Linked DNA regions of Homo sapiens: region 2 is linked to region 1. Evidence: promoter capture Hi-C in 16 types of primary human blood cells and fetal thymus (Javierre and others, 2016). All regions are on one chromosome and are shown on one strand. The core of a region is centred on a gene start or on the middle of the fragment in contact, and the rest is flanking DNA. Distances in the headings are between cores, read along the strand shown. Region 1 holds the start of SIPA1 (signal-induced proliferation-associated 1). Region 2 holds the start of CTSW (cathepsin W).

Region 1 (3,771 bases), core at 1,272-3,771:
TTGGGTCTTGGTCCTGAGGGTCCTGGAGCCTGGGCAGCCCTGGGACTGCCAGGGTCCCCCAGTCGCCACCCACACACCTTAGCTTTGGCCTGGGCCCAGAGTAAGGGTCCCACCAGGACCTAGCCCAACCGGACAGATGACTTGTATTGGCTGGGACGGGAAACCCAGGGGCCACTGGTGTCTGGGTCCTGCCCACTTAACAAAGGGAGGACGTCCTGTCCCCAGAGACCTTCCTCCTTGCCCCTCCCACTTCCTTCAGGGTCCCTGGAGAGCTGATCACCCAGAGAGGTCTGATCTCAGTGCCCTGGACCTCAAGGCCTCAATACCACAAGGACACATGGGTTCCCAGGGAGGCAGCGGCAGGGCAGCAGGAATGGCAAGAGGACTTCCTTCAGCACAGGAAGTAGCCCCAACTGTGGGCCCAGCCCTCTGCCAGGCCCCCACATCCTGAGGAAGGTGCTGGGGTCACAGCAGCTGTCATGGGACCCCAGTCACCCTGCCCTGAAGGACAGGCCAACTCACCTTCTTGCAGGCTACTGTGCCCAGGCTTGGGGGCAAGAGGAGTCACAATGACAGGGACCCATAGGGACCTCTGCCTACCTGGTCTCACTGATGCAGACAGGGAGGTCTGAACCCCATGTGACAGATGGTCAGATGAGGTCCAGAGGAGATGCTCTTGCCTGAAGCAATTCCGTGTCAGAGCTAGGATGTGAGCCTGGGTCTGCCCATCTCCAGGCCCTAAGCAGGGCTGCACCTGCCCACTGCTGTCTGTGTGCGTAGGTTTTGGGGGGTGGGTGTTGGGCTGAGGTTCAAGGTCTCACAGGATGCAAGATTGAGACACCCAAAGCCCCAGGGACCTGCTAAGTGCGGAAACGTGACGCCAGAGGCAGGTGCAAATGGTGGTGTGAGAACTTGAGGGAAGCCACACCCAGGCAAGCCCTGGATGGAGTAGGCAGTGAGGACAGGGAGCTGGGGAACCTCCACTGGGGGTACAGGCATCTAATGGTGGGTCTTCATGCAGCATCCAGCAACATCATGCGGGGCTGGGCCGGAGGGGGGTGGAGGAGGGGCTCCACACACCCTTCGTCTGGGGCCTCCAGAACCAAGCAAGAGTCGGCTCCCCAGCCCAGGTGCTTCTACCTTGATTTCTCCTGAATAAACTCCCATGCTGACCTTGAGCCTCTGTTTTCTCATCTCTAAAATGGGGTTAACTGGCCGGGTGCGGTGGCTGTGGCCTGTAATCCCAGCACTTTGGGAGGCCAAGGCGGGGGGATCACCTGAGGTCAGGAGTTCAAGACCAGCCTAGCTAACATGGTGAAACCCTGTCTCTACTAAAAACATAAAAATTAGCCGGGTGTGGTGGTGCGCACCTGTAGTCCCAGCCACTCAGGAGGCTGAGGCAGGAGAATCGCTTAAACCTGGGAGGCAGAGGTTGCAGTGAGCCGAGATCGCGCCACTGAACTCCAGCCTGCGGGACAGAGTGAGACTGTCTCCAAAAAAACAAAGAAAAAAATTGGGTTTAATTATTTCTGTCCCCTCCCAAGGCTGCTGAGAGACTGAGAAGAATGAGGTGAGTGTCGCTAGCTATGTGTGTGTGTGACGGGTGTAGCCCCTGGCTCCATGAGCCAAGCTCTGGGCACATTCAGCGCTCGGGCCTGGGCTATAGTGTGTGAAGGAGTAGGAGGGCATGAGGGAGGGGGTCTGTGCAAGCCCCGCTCCTTGTGGGCTGAGCTCTGCACGCTTGGAAGTGAGATCTGTGCATGTGTGCACCCAGCCTGTGCGCTGCCTCTTGCTGTGGCCCAGTGCCAGGCTCTGGCGCTGCCTTGAGGGGTGTTCTCGGGCTCTGCCCCCCACCCTGAAGCTTCACACAGGGTCCATTGAGGCTAGGACATTCCTCCGGGCCTGTGTCACTAGGGGTGGGGGGAAAGGGCCGGCCCCGCCCCCACAGATCCGGAAGGCCTGGCTGCCCCAGGAGGAGGAGCTGGCCACTTCCCAGCACATCTGGAGGTCATGACCCCATTTCGGCTGCCAGGGGGCGCGACAGATGTTTCCTCCCAGGCCAGGCCAGGGACTGGGGTGGAGGCCGCCTAAGAAGAAGAGGAGCCTCAGAATAAGGGGGAGCCCCGCACACACTTGCAGTGTTGAGGGGGAGGGGGTCACAGTGCCGCCACCAGGAGTCAGGAGCCGCCGCTTCCACTCACCGGCTGGCTGGCCAGGCTAAGCCGTCACACAGAGAGAGTAGGAACGGCTGGTCAGAGACAGGGGGCTGGACATATTGACTCGGGACTGAGCTGGAGCCCGGAGGGAAGTTGGGAGGGTGCTGGCGGCGAACGTGGCGAGGACCCCACTCCCATACACATCACCCGGGCCCACGGCTAGGCCACCTCTCCCCTGTCGGGCCCGACAGTAGTGCCTCCCGTCCCCTGCTCCCGCCAGTACCTCTGGGGCTCCCGCCCAGCCGCCGCCGCCCGCGCTGGGGTCCCGCTGCCGCTCTCCCGCTACCGCTCCCGGCGCCGGCTCCGCCTGGGGGCGGGGCCATGCTGGGAGGCGGGGCCATGCCGGGAGGCGGGGCCGGCCGGGAGCTGTCTGCGGCGGGAAGCGCAGCAGCGGGGATTCCAGGCCTGGCGGAGGTCAGCACCGAGCAGTGCTCATTCTAAGGCCATTTCCTCTCCTGAGAAACTTGTGCCTGCCTTCCAGACCAACCGGGAGGGCTAGCGGAGGCCACCTAGCGTCCAGCTCCCGGCCAGCAGGTGCTCAAGAGTCTGCCACTATTTTATGGAGCACTTGCTAAGCACTGGGCCCTGGGCAACCATTCCACTAGCGCGCTCTCATTTATTCTAAAAACACCTTAGATAGGTGTCATCTCTTTACGCCCTGGAGCAGCTGAGGTGCAGAGAAAGGCTTTGGCCAAGAACAAGCCTGATAAATGTAGGAGCCACCAGACCTGGAAGTCTGACCATATGGTGGGAAATGGCAGACAATACCCTTCAGATAAAGGCTTGAAAAGGGAGCAGCCATGCGGTGAAGAGGACCCGGTTCTACCTGAACCCCACCTTGGTCTGCCCTTGATCTCTACTAGACTTCAGCCCCACATCCTTCACCCCTCTGCGTGCTTGTCCATCCCAACTTAGCCGCCTGTACTATCATGTACCCATTCCCAGGTAGAAAAAGAAACTGCCAACCAAAATCAAAAATAGTGTTATTAATTCTGATGTCTCCGAAGCACAAAAAAAAAAAAAAAAAAGAAAAGAAAAAAAAGGAAAGAAAGAAACCACCCTTCCCACAATTCAGGCCCCAGGTCCAGGCCAAGGGGGCCACACCTGCAGGCAGTGCAGGCCCAGGGGCTGAGGTGGTCCTGGCCACAGGCTCCAAGTGGGACCAGCCCATGGTTTGGCTCTTAGGGCCTGGCTGGGAGGCTGACTGCCTCCATCTGGGGAGCCCAGGCCCTGGACTGGGGATGAGAGAGATCAGGGGTCAAGGTCAGAGGTCTGGGTCACTCAGTTTTGGTACTCTGGCCAAGGCAGCCAAAGGTCAGGGTTCAGACATGTAGGCCAAAGCCACTCAGTTCTGTGGTCCAGCAGAGAGGCAGCAGAGCAGGTCCGTTACTGAATCCTAGGAGGTGGTCCAGTGGGCGCCAGGTAGCTCAGTACTGGTGTTCCAGCAGGGGCTGGGCTGCCGGGCTCTCACGCTCCTCAATAGGGGCAGGCCAGTCGCCCAGGGCACCCATAGGTGTGCCACTCTCAGGGGCACTGCTGTCCAAGCAAGGAATGT
Region 2 (4,807 bases), core at 265-2,764, 240 kb before region 1:
AGCCGCTGGCTGGGCACCCTTCCACCCACACCCACCCAGTTGAGCACTGGCTCCTTTCCTGTAGCCCCCACAAGGCCCCACTGCAGATACCCAGGCCCAGGAAGTGGTTACCCAGCCCACCGAGGGTTGGGTTTTCCCCAGAGGCAGCCAGAGGACCATCTCTGGCCACCCTAGGTGGGAAGCCAGGCAAGGGGTCCGGTGGTGGTGACTCAAGGATGTGTGGCTGGAGACCAGCTTCCTGCCAGGCCACGTCCTTTACACCTCTGACCACAGGAGGAGAGCTGGAACATGGCAGGGAGAGGAGATGACAAGGCACAGGCAGTCTGGGCTAAAAGGCACACACAGATCAGCCCCCTAGAGAGATCAGCACAGCGAGAGGGCAGGGGCAGGGGTTAGATCATGGGCTAGAGAAGAAGTCCCCAATGTGGGGACAAAATGGGTGTCCTTGGGTGTTTGCTGAATGAGCAAATGACTAGGTGGTGGCCCCCTGTCCACTGCCTAGAATCGCAGGGAAGTGGCTGTGGAGCCAGGGGATCACGTAGGACTAGGGCAGGACCCCACCTCCTGCCACTGCCCTCCAGATCCATAGCAAAGAATGATCCTGGACCCACTCATGCCTTCGGGAAACCAGGGAACACACCCCCAGCCCTGGCCTGTCCTGCTGAGTGGCCTTGGCCATGCCTGTTCCCCACCCTGAGCTTCGATTTCTTCATCTATTACAAAGCGGGATGGCTGGGCTCCGTGGCTTACACCTGTAATCCCAGCCCTTTGGGAGGCCGAGGCAGGCGGATCACCTGATGTCAGGAGTTCAAGACCAGCCTGGCCAACATGGTCAAACCCCATCTCTACTAAAAATGTAAAGGTTAGCCAAGTGTGGTGGCGCATGCCTGTAATCCCAGCTACTCAGAGGCTGAAGCAGGAGAATCGCTTGAACCCGGGAGGTGGAGGTTGCAGTGAGCCAAGATGACACCATTGCACTCCAGCCTGGTCAACAAGAGTGAAACTCCGTCTCAAAAAAAAAAAAAGTGGGGGCTTGGACTGGAGATGTATGTGCCCTGTGATACCTTCTGGGCTCAGGTAACTCCGGTTGAACTGGATCTGGAACAACTTGAAGGCCTCTTTCAGCTCTAGCGGCTGGGGACCTAGGTCCTGGCAAGGAACCAAGGGTGGAGAGGGGCAGTGGGCAGAGGAATCATTGCTGGGGCCCCACCTTAGTTCCCAGCCGTGCAAGGACTGGGCTAGGGGTCAGCCAGTTAGCCTTTTCTGTCTTCCCATGTGCCCTTGGGCACGTCAGCCCCCTCTCCAGCCTCAGCAACTCCCTCTGAAAAATGAGAATGACAGGCCAGCTGTTTCTGAAGGGGTGACCCCAGGCGTGGGACTGGCATAGGTAAGGGTTTGGGAGCACTTACCTGGGCCCTAAGGGGGCCTCTGATGCCTTGGGCTAGGCCTGCCACCAACAGGGCCAGGAGGCAGGAGGGGTGGGCAGTCAGTGCCATGCCGGTGCAGTCTGGAGTGGCATGGAGGCAGGAAGCCGCGCAGATCGAGGAGGACGGTGTGAGGGTGGGGCTGGAGAAACCACGAAGGGGAAGACAGGCTTGGTGGGTGGAGGGTGGACCCCTAGAACCCACAAGTTGCTCAGGCCTTCAGGCTTTCAGTCCCTGCCTGTCTGCTCCCCATCCCACCCCTTTTTCTTTCTTTCTTTCTTTCTTTTTTTTTTCCACCCAGGTTGGAGTGCAGTGGCATGATCTCGGCTCACTGCAACCTCCACCTCCCGGGTTCAAGCAATTCTCCTGCCTCAGCCTCCCGACTAGCTGGGACTACAGGCATGCACCACCATGCCCAGCGAATTTTTTGTATTTTCAGTAGAGACAGCATTTCACCATGTTGGTCAGGCTGGTCTCCAACTCCTGACCTCAGGTGATCCACCTGCCTCAGCCTCCCAAAGTGCTGGGATAACAGGCATGAGCCACTGCGCCCAGCCAAGGGAACCACTCTTGCTCATCCTATGAAGCTCAGTCAGCTCAATGGCCGCCTCTTTCAAGAAGCCTTCCCTGCTTCCCCAACCTCTGGTAGAAGCTTTGCAGCCCCTTCAGCCCAGCTGCACCTGTGCCCATTGGGCATCTGCCTCCAACCACACCAGAAGTGTTCAGTTCGCTTGTGTCCTCGGTGTCCTCGGTTCCCAGGATAGGGCTAGGCATGAGTCAGGCTCGCTAGGTGTTTGTTGACTGAACAATTGATCATCATGAGTTTTAAACAGGAAAGCAGGCCGGGCATAATGGCTCATGCCTGTAATCTCATCACTTTGGGAGGCCAAGGTAGGAGAATCATTTGAGCTCAGGAGTTGGAGACAAACTTGGACAACTGAGCAAGGCTTCATCTCTACTTAAAAAAAAAAAAGTTAGCCAAGCATGGTGGTGCTCTCCTGTAGTCCCAGCTACTGGGGAGGCTGAGGCCAGTGGGATTGCTTGAGCCTGGAAGATTAAGGCTGCAGTGAGCTATGATCATGCCTCTGCACTCCAGCGTGGGTCCAAGATCCTGTGTCAAAAAAACAAAACCAGGCCAGGCACGGTGGCTCACGCTTGTAATCCCAGCACTTTGGGAGGCCGAGGCGGGTGGATCACCTGAGGTCAGGAGTTGGAGACCAGCCTGGCCAACATGGTGAAACCCTGTCTCTACTAAAAATACAAAAAAGCAGCTGGGCATGGTGGCGGGCGCCTATAATCCCAGTTACTCGGGAGGCTGAGGCACAAGAATCACTTGAACCTGAGAGGTGGAGGTTGCAGTGAGCCGAGATCGCACCATTACACTCCAGCCTGGGCAACAAAAGTGAAACTCCATCTCAAAAAACAAAACAAAACAGGAAAGCGCAGAGTCAGAGTCCGGGAGCAGCAACTGCAGCCAGTGCCTCCCGTTCCTCATCCCTCCCACGGTCTAGGGATGAGGATGAGGGGGCTGAAGAGCCAGAAGGATAACAGGGTGAGCATCACAGACGGAGGGAGGCCAAAGCCTGACTTGTGAGGTCAAGGGCTGGGCAGCAGCATTAACACCCGTTACTGCTGCCTTTGTTCTAAGTGGGTCCTTGGGCTGGGGACCTCCCCTATAGGAGTTCAGGCTGAGAACTGGTGACCAAGACCAGAGAAGGGTGTGAAGAGCTGGCTTTCTAGGGTTCCATGGGGTGGGAGACAGGACAGCTATAATCCTGGGATTTATTCACTTACATGCTCACTACTGCGTTTCTTTTTTTTGTTTGTTTTTTTGAGACGGAGTCTCGCTCTGTCGCCCAGGCTGGAGTGCAGTGGTGCGATCTCGGCTCACTGGAACCTCCACCTCCTGGGTTCACGCCATTCTCCTGCCTCGGCCTCCCGAGTAGCTGGGACTACAGGCACCCGCCACCACGCCCGGCTAATTTTTTGTATTTTTTAGTAGAGACAGGGTTTCACCATGTTAGCCAGGATGGTCTTGATCTCTTGACCTCGTGATCCGCTCGCCTCGGCCTCCCAAAGTGCTGGGATTACAGGCGTGAGCCACCACGCCCGGCCTACCATGTTTCTTTATTAGGATTCCTCCCAGAGTCGTGAGGCCACACTTTGTCACCCTGCCCAGAGAGTAAACCAAGGGGCTTCTCTATCTGAAAAGCATGCTGCTGCCTTTATTGAAATGCAGTGGACAGACCATCCCCAGAGTGGTGCCTGGCCCTGTGGTTCTAGAGCCCAGTTATGGGCCCCAGCCAGTCTTGTCCTGTGTGTGACTGATAGTTAAGGCTCCATGTCAGCCCTCAGAGGTGGAGGTCCCAGTGTGGGCCTCTTGTGATGGTAGGGGATGTGGGAGGCCACGGGGAAAAGGAACTGGAGGTGTGGGGCCCAGTGGCCTTCCCTTTGATCCTCTCCTCCCTTCCCTTGAACTAGAGCTCCTGAGGCCAGGAGGTTTGGGTCTGTTTTTGGTCAGTGCTGTGTCCCTGGCTAGCACCACAGCATCTGCTTCACAGTGGCCACTCAGTAAACATTGTTTGTTTTGTTTTGCTTTGTTTTTTTGAGACAGAGTCTCACTCTGTCGCCCAGCCTGGAGTGCAGTGTCACGATCTCGGCTCACCGCAACCTCTGCCTCCCGGGTTCCAGCAATTCTCCTGCCTCAGCCTCCCAAGTAACTAGGGCTACAGGTGTGCACCACCATGCTGGGGTAATCTTTTTGTATTTTTAGTAGAGACAGGGTTTCACCATGTTGGTCAGGCTGGTCTCAAACTCCTGACCTCAAGCAATCCACCTGCCTTGGCCTCCCAAAGTGCTGGGATTACAGGCGTGAGCCACTGCACCCGGCCGAGAAAACATTTGTTGAGTGAATCAATGAACTTCCTCCACCCACTCACTCATTTGTTCATTCAACTGCCTACTCTGCAGATCCCAGCTGGTACCCAGTAAGGGCTGGGCCATGGGCACAGGGGCCTCACTGCCTGAGAGGAGCTCCCTGCTTGGTAGGAGGGAGACACTGATCCAGTGGTGTCTGGGACCTTGAAAGGGACCCAGTGCAGAGCAGGCGAAGGCAGGGAAAGTCACTGGGGGTGCAGAGGACGAGGGAGGCATTCTGAGGAGGCAACTCCAAGTGGAAGGCTCACTCGGGCTGGATAGTGCAAAGATGGAGGTTCAGGTCTAGGTTGTGCACCAGCTGTGCACTAAGTCATCCCCCCTGGGCCTCATGTCTTCATCTCTAATTGGCAATGACAATTCTCAGGCTGAGGCTTGAGTGGAAGATACTTAGTGGAGCACCCACCACTGTGGCTGGCACAGAGTGGGTGTTTGCAGGGCGGGTCCTT

Evidence for each region. Contacts are between HindIII fragments. The CHiCAGO score rates a contact against its expected background, and 5 or more counts as called.
Region 2: a contact is called between the fragment with the promoter of CTSW here and the fragment with the promoter of SIPA1 in region 1, in 2 of 17 cell types (M1 macrophages and endothelial precursors). The highest score is 5.2, in M1 macrophages.

What each region holds. Positions count from the first base shown.
Region 1 is chr11:65,636,851-65,640,621 of GRCh38, reverse strand. It overlaps SIPA1 (signal-induced proliferation-associated 1), which reads right to left and starts at 2,521. Exons shown (of 16, transcript NM_006747.4): 1 at 2,440-2,521. It overlaps PCNX3 (pecanex 3), which reads right to left. Exons shown (of 35, transcript NM_032223.4): 35 at 3,183-3,771. The coding sequence ends at 3,644. RefSeq lists enhancers at 1,889-1,958, 2,910-3,700 and a silencer at 2,309-2,678. The HindIII fragment of the contact is 3,649 bases long and covers 1,864-3,771 here.
Region 2 is chr11:65,876,544-65,881,350 of GRCh38, reverse strand. CTSW (cathepsin W) reads right to left here and starts at 1,514. Exons shown (of 10, transcript NM_001335.4): 1 at 1,410-1,514; 2 at 1,065-1,149. The coding sequence starts at 1,496. The HindIII fragment of the contact is 11,122 bases long and covers 1-2,078 here.